Regions from separate parts of the Homo sapiens genome. Here region 2 is linked to region 1. The links are contacts of gene promoters, found by promoter capture Hi-C in human tissues and cell types (Jung and others, 2019). All regions are on one chromosome and are shown on one strand. Each heading gives the region's core, a stretch centred on a gene start or on the middle of the fragment in contact. The rest is flanking DNA. Distances are from core to core; before and after follow the strand shown.

The links. The method cuts DNA at HindIII sites, captures the fragments that hold promoters and counts their contacts. A contact is called where the count stands out against the background at its distance.
Region 2: a fragment that was not itself captured here is called in contact with the fragment with the promoter of OR1L1 in region 1 in 2 of the 25 tissues and cell types used here (heart right ventricle and mesendoderm cells).

Annotation. Positions count from the first base shown.
Region 1 is chr9:122,660,315-122,663,236 of GRCh38, reverse strand. It overlaps OR1L1 (olfactory receptor family 1 subfamily L member 1), which reads right to left and starts at 1,521. Exons shown (of 1, transcript NM_001005236.3): 1 at 589-1,521. The coding sequence starts at 1,521. The coding sequence ends at 589. The HindIII fragment of the contact is 8,013 bases long and covers 1-2,922 here.
Region 2 is chr9:122,594,189-122,597,192 of GRCh38, reverse strand. No RefSeq gene overlaps it. Among named protein-coding and RNA genes, the nearest start is that of OR1L8, 12 kb to the right of the region's middle. The HindIII fragment of the contact is 4,400 bases long and covers 1-3,004 here.

The DNA of each region.
Region 1 (2,922 bases), core at 272-2,771:
GTACAGTCAGCTTTGCCAGGTGGGAAGCAGGAAGAATACTGAGATGCCATACTCTTAGGAACCTGACCTGGCACTGATTCACTAAGAGTTATCTAGTGGGATGATTTTATTTGTTGAGACTATGACAACTATAGAAGCCAGGCTTTAATCTTTGAGGAAATGCAGAGGAAGGAGTCACAGTTCTGACATTTATAATGGGAGAAAGAGAGAGACCTCGTTATTGAGGAGCCCCTGGGCTAATATGATGAAGCGACACACACACACATACACACACACATGCACACACGCACGCACACACACACAGAGTAGCTCAAAGACATTCAAGCAGCTTTACATTACTATACAAGAAAACCCAGCTGCATGAATAGGGATACTCAGGAGATTACAGTGATCCAACTTAGTTTGTAGGCATTATATTCAGGAGTAGCTTCAATACATGCAATAAACATTCTTCTGTAAGGAATGAAACACCATCATTGAAGGTACTATCCTTTCAGAATCTAATAATCATTTCAGAATCACATACCCATTAATAACCTATAGTCCAGGGCAAGAGATCTGTGGTATTCTCTTAAGACCTTAGGTCTTTTACTGACATTTCATCCTGTGCATCAACTTTGCCAAACCCTGCTTCATGTCTTTGTTCCTCAGACTATAGATAAATGGATTTAGCATAGGAGTCAGTACGGTGTAGATAATTGTTGCTATTTGATCCTTGACAGTATAGTTGGACAGGGGCTGAAAATAGAGATAGCTAATGCTTCCATAAAACAGGGTCACCACTGTGAGATGAGAGCCACAGGTAGAAAATGCTTTACGCTTTCCAGCAGCTGAAGGAATCTTCAGAACAGTGATGAGGATTCTTAAATAAGAGATGATGATGCATGAAAACGGGGTCATTATGACAGCCAAGCCTTCTGTCATTACTGTGATTTCTTTGACAAAATGGGAGGAACAGGACAATTTTAGCACTGGTTGATCATCGCAGAAAAAGTGATGGATGACATTTGAGGCACAGAAGATGAGCTGATTAGTCAGAAGAATGTGCAGGAGGGAGTGAAAATGTGGAATGCAGAAGGAGAGAACCAGAAGCAGGACACAGCATCTGTGACTCATAATGGTGATGTAGTGGAAGGGATTACATATGGCCACATAGCGGTCAATGGCCATGGCTGCTAGCAGGTAACTGTCTGTGTTTCCAAAGGCTAAGAAAAAGTACATCTGGGTCAGACACTCACTGTAAGAGATGGTCTTTGTCTCTGATAAGAAGTTCACCAGCATCTTAGGGATAATGACTGTCACATAGCAAATGTCAACAAAAGACAGGATGCTTAGAAAGAAGTACATGGGCGTCTGGAGACGAGTGTCTGAGCGGATGGCCAGGATGATAAGCAGGTTTCCTATCACTGTGATAAGGTAGATGGGGAGGAACACAGCAAAGAGCGGCTTCTGATCCTCAGGTCGAGAGGAGAGTCCAAGGAGGATGAATTCAGAGGGTCTTGTTAGGTTATTTCTTCCCATAGTTGTGGGTTCACCTAAAGATAAACTAACACTGTAACAGATTCTTCCAACATCTGATACAATCTGTCCAAAATTTCTCCTTTTATTCTTCTTATCAGCAAAGAAAAAATTTAAAACATTACAATTATCTGGATTGTGGTTTCTTTCCATTAATGTGGGATATTTAGAAATTAATATATATTTTAATCTCAGTTGCCTGCTATAAAGAAACAAATTACAGGGAAACAGAAATGGGAAAAAGAGAAAAGAAGAGATATAGGGCAAGAGGAAGGAGTGAGTGCAAGAGAATTCCCAGAAGGAGAGGAGGGGAATCCTGGAGAAATTATTCTCTTCTTTTTCTGTATATATTTATCGTATTCACGGTTTTCAGTAATTAGTTTATGACAGGTTTAAAAAAGTTTCATCTCTCAATTTCCAGCTGATGGAATAATGATTTCCCTTAGTTCGGATACTTCTGTCTGCATCAGTTATTCTGGAGGCTGGCAATCATGTAAAAAGACATTGAAATATGAGATTACCCAACAGTTACTCCATTTCCCTCATTTTTTAGTGAAACCTTATTTGAGTGAAAGGATAGGTATGAAGAGGCAAAAGATAGACAGAAATAACAGGATAGTAAAAACATTTCTTTTCCTTATTTTTTTTTTTTTGAGACAAGGTCTTGCTTTGTCACCCAGGCTGGAGTGCAGTGGCACAATCTTAGCTCACTGCAACCTCTGCCTCCTGGGTTCAAGCGATTCTCCCCCCTTAGCCTCCTGAGTAGCTGGGATTACAGGCTTGTGCCACCACACCCAGCTAATTTTTGTATTTTTAGTAGAGATGGGGTTTCACCATGTTGGCCAGGCTGGTCACGAACTCCTGATCTCAAGTGATCCGCCCACCTTGGCCTTCCAAAGTGGTGGGATTACAGGCATTAGTCACCGCACCCGGCCAACATTTCTTTTAATGTAACATAAACCTCATTTTTGTTATCCAGCCCCTAAATGCTAAAATCGTCATTGTTAGTGCATGCTTGTCTGTGTTGGTGTAATTCTTTTCCCAATTCCAGTCTCAGTTATATATATGCTTCCCCAAAAAACCACACAGAGAAGGCACCTGATTCTAGACAAGCTTTCAACCCTCATGAAGCTGAAGATTTTCCTCTCTTCCTCCTCTGGGCCTCCCACATGCTGAAGAGATTAAAGACACTCATAGACCCCACCCTCTGTCAAGGGAGCATCCTTTGAGATCATCAAGAAGTCCCTGGAGTTCAGATGGAGAAGACAGCAGAAAACAAGCCAAGAACTATTACGGTTTTGGAGTTTCTTCCCCAAGGAGCCTGGGGAGTGTCAGTGCCTTCTCTCTCTCTCAGAAATCACCCTCCTGACCTAACTCCTTTTGGTGAAAAAGACCCCACCTGTG
Region 2 (3,004 bases), core at 282-2,781, 66 kb after region 1:
ATTACTGGGTATATAGCCAAAGGATTATAAATCATGCTGCTATAAAGACACATGTACATGTATGTTCACTGCGGCACTATTCACAATAGCAAAGACTTGGAACCAACCCAAGTGTCCATCAGTGATAGACTGGATTAAGAAAATGTGGCACATATACACCATGGAATACTATGCAGCAATAAAAAAGGATGAGTTCATGTCCTTTGTAGGGACATGGATGAAGCTGGAAACCATCATTCTCAGCAAACTATCACAAGGACAAAAAACCAAACACCGCATGTTTTCACTCATAGGTGGGAATTGAACAATGAGAACACTTGGTCACAGGAAGGGGAACATCACACACTGGGGCCTGTTGTGGGGTGGGGGTAGGGGGGGAGGGATAGCATTAGGAGATATACCTAATGTAAATGACAAGTTAATGGGTGCAGCACACGAACATGGCACATGTATAAATATGTAACAAACCTGCATGTTGTGCACATGTACCCTAGAGCTTAAAGTATAATAATTACAAAAAATGCAGTAGAGAGCATCAACAGAAGAACTGATCAAGCAGCAGAAAGAATCAGTGAGCTGGAAAGACAAACTTTTAAAATACACAGTCAGAAGACAAAAAAGACAGAGAATGAAAAAAATGAAGAAAGATTATGGGATCTATGAGGCAACATCAAAATAGCAAATAATTGGGTTATTGAAGTTAAAGAGGAAACTGAGAAGGCAAAGGGGAAGAAAGCTTATTTTAAAAAATAATAACAGAAAATTTTCCAAATCTGAGAAACACATAAATATCCAGGTTCAGGAAGGCCAAATGTCACCAACATATTAAACACAAATGAGGATAATCCAAGACATATTAGAGTCAAACTCTCAAAGGGTAAAGACAAGGAGAGAATACTGAAAACAGTGAGAGAAAAGAAGCAAATCACATATAAGGAAGATCTAATACGTCTGGCAGCAGACTTCTCAGCAGAAACTTTGCAGGCCAGGAAGGACTGGGATGACACGTTAAGAGTGCTGAAGAAGGAGGAGCCAAGATGGCAGAATAGGAACAGCTCTGGTCTACAGCTCCCAGTGTGAGCAAGGCAGAAGATGGGTGATTTCTGCATTTCCATCTGAGGTACCAGGTTCATCTCACTAGGGAGTGCCAGACAGTGGGCGCAGGTCAGTGGGTGCGCGCACCGTGTGCGAGCCGAAGCAGGGCGAGGCATTGCCTCACTCAGGAAGCACAAGGCGTCAGGGAGTTCCCTTTCCTAGTCAAAGAAAGTGGTGACAGATGGCACCTGGAAAATCGGGTCACTCCCACCCGAATACTGCGCTTTTCCGACAGCCTTAAAAAACGGCACACCAGGAGATTATATCCCCCACCTGGCTCAGAGGGTCCTACACCCACGGAGTCTCACTGATTGCTAGCACAGCAGTCTGAGATCAAACTGCAAGGCGGCAGCGAGGCTGGGGGAGGGGCGCCCGCCATTGCCCAGGCTTGATTAGGTAAACAAAGCAGCCGGGAAGCTCGAACTGGGTGGAGCCCACCACAGCTCAAGGAGGCCTGCCTGCCTCTGTAGGCTCCACCTCTGGGGGCAGGGCACAGACAAAGAAAAAGACAGCAGTAACCTCTGCAGACTTAAATGTCCCTGTCTGACAGCTTTGAAGAGAGCAGTGGTTCTCCCAGCACGCAGCTGGAGATCTGAGAACGGGCAGACTGCCTCCTCAAGTGGGTCCCTGACCCCTGACCCCCGAGCAGCCTAACTGGGAGGCACCCCCCAGCAGGGGCAGACTGACACCTCACACAGCCGGGTACTCCAACAGACCTGCAGCTGAGGGTCCTGTCTGTTAGAAGGAAAACTAACAAACAGAAAGGACATCCACACCAAAAACCCATCTGTACATCACCATCATCAAAGACCAAAAGTAGATAAAACCACAAAGATGGGGAAAAAACAGAGCAGAAAAACTGGAAACTCTAAAAATCAGAGTGCCTCTCCTCCTCCAAGGAACGCAGTTCCTTACGAGCAATGGAACAAAGCTGGATGGAGAATGACTTTGACGAGCTGAGAGAAGAAGGCTTTAGATGATCAAACTACTCCAAGCTACAGGAGGAATTCAAAACAAAGGCAAAGAAGTTGAAAACTTTGAAAAAAATTTAGAAGAATGTATAACTAGAATAACCAATACAGAGAAGTGCTTAAAGGAGCTGATGGAGCTGAAAGCCAAGGCTCGAAACTACGTGAAGAATGCAGAAGCCTCAGGAGCCAATGCGATCAACTGGAAGAAAGGGTATCAGTGATGGAAGATGAAATGAATGAAATGAAGCGAGAAGGGAAGTTTAGAGAAAAAAGAATAAAAAGAAATGAACAAAGCCTCCACGAAATATGGGACTATGTGAAAAGACCAAATCTACGTCTGATTGGTGTACCTGAAAGTGACAGGGAGAATGGAACTAAGTTGGAAAACACTCTGCAGGATATTATCCAGGAGAACTTCCCCAATCTAGCAAGGCAGGCCAATATTCAGATTCAGGAAATACAGAGAACGCCACAAAGATACTCCTCGAGAAGAGCAACTCCAAGACACATAATTGTCAGATTCACCAAAGTGGAAATGAAGAAAAAAATGTTAAGGGCAGCCAGAGAGAAAGGTCGGGTTACCCTCAAAGAGAAGCCCATCAGACTAACAGCTGATCTCTCGGCAGAAACTCTACAAGCCAGAAGAGAGTGGGGGCCAATATTCAACATTCTTAAAGAAAATAATTTTCAACCCAGAATTTCATATGCAGCCAAACTAAGCTTCATAAGTGAAGGAGAAATAAAATACTTCACAGACAAGCAAATGATGACAGGTTTTCTCACCACCAGGCCTGCCCTAAAAGAGCTCCTGAAGGAAGCGCTAAACATGGAAAGGAACAACGGGTACCAGCCGCTGCAAAATCATGCCAAAATGTAAAGACCATCGAGACTAGGAAGAAACTGCATCAACTAACGAGCAAAATAACCAGCTAACATCA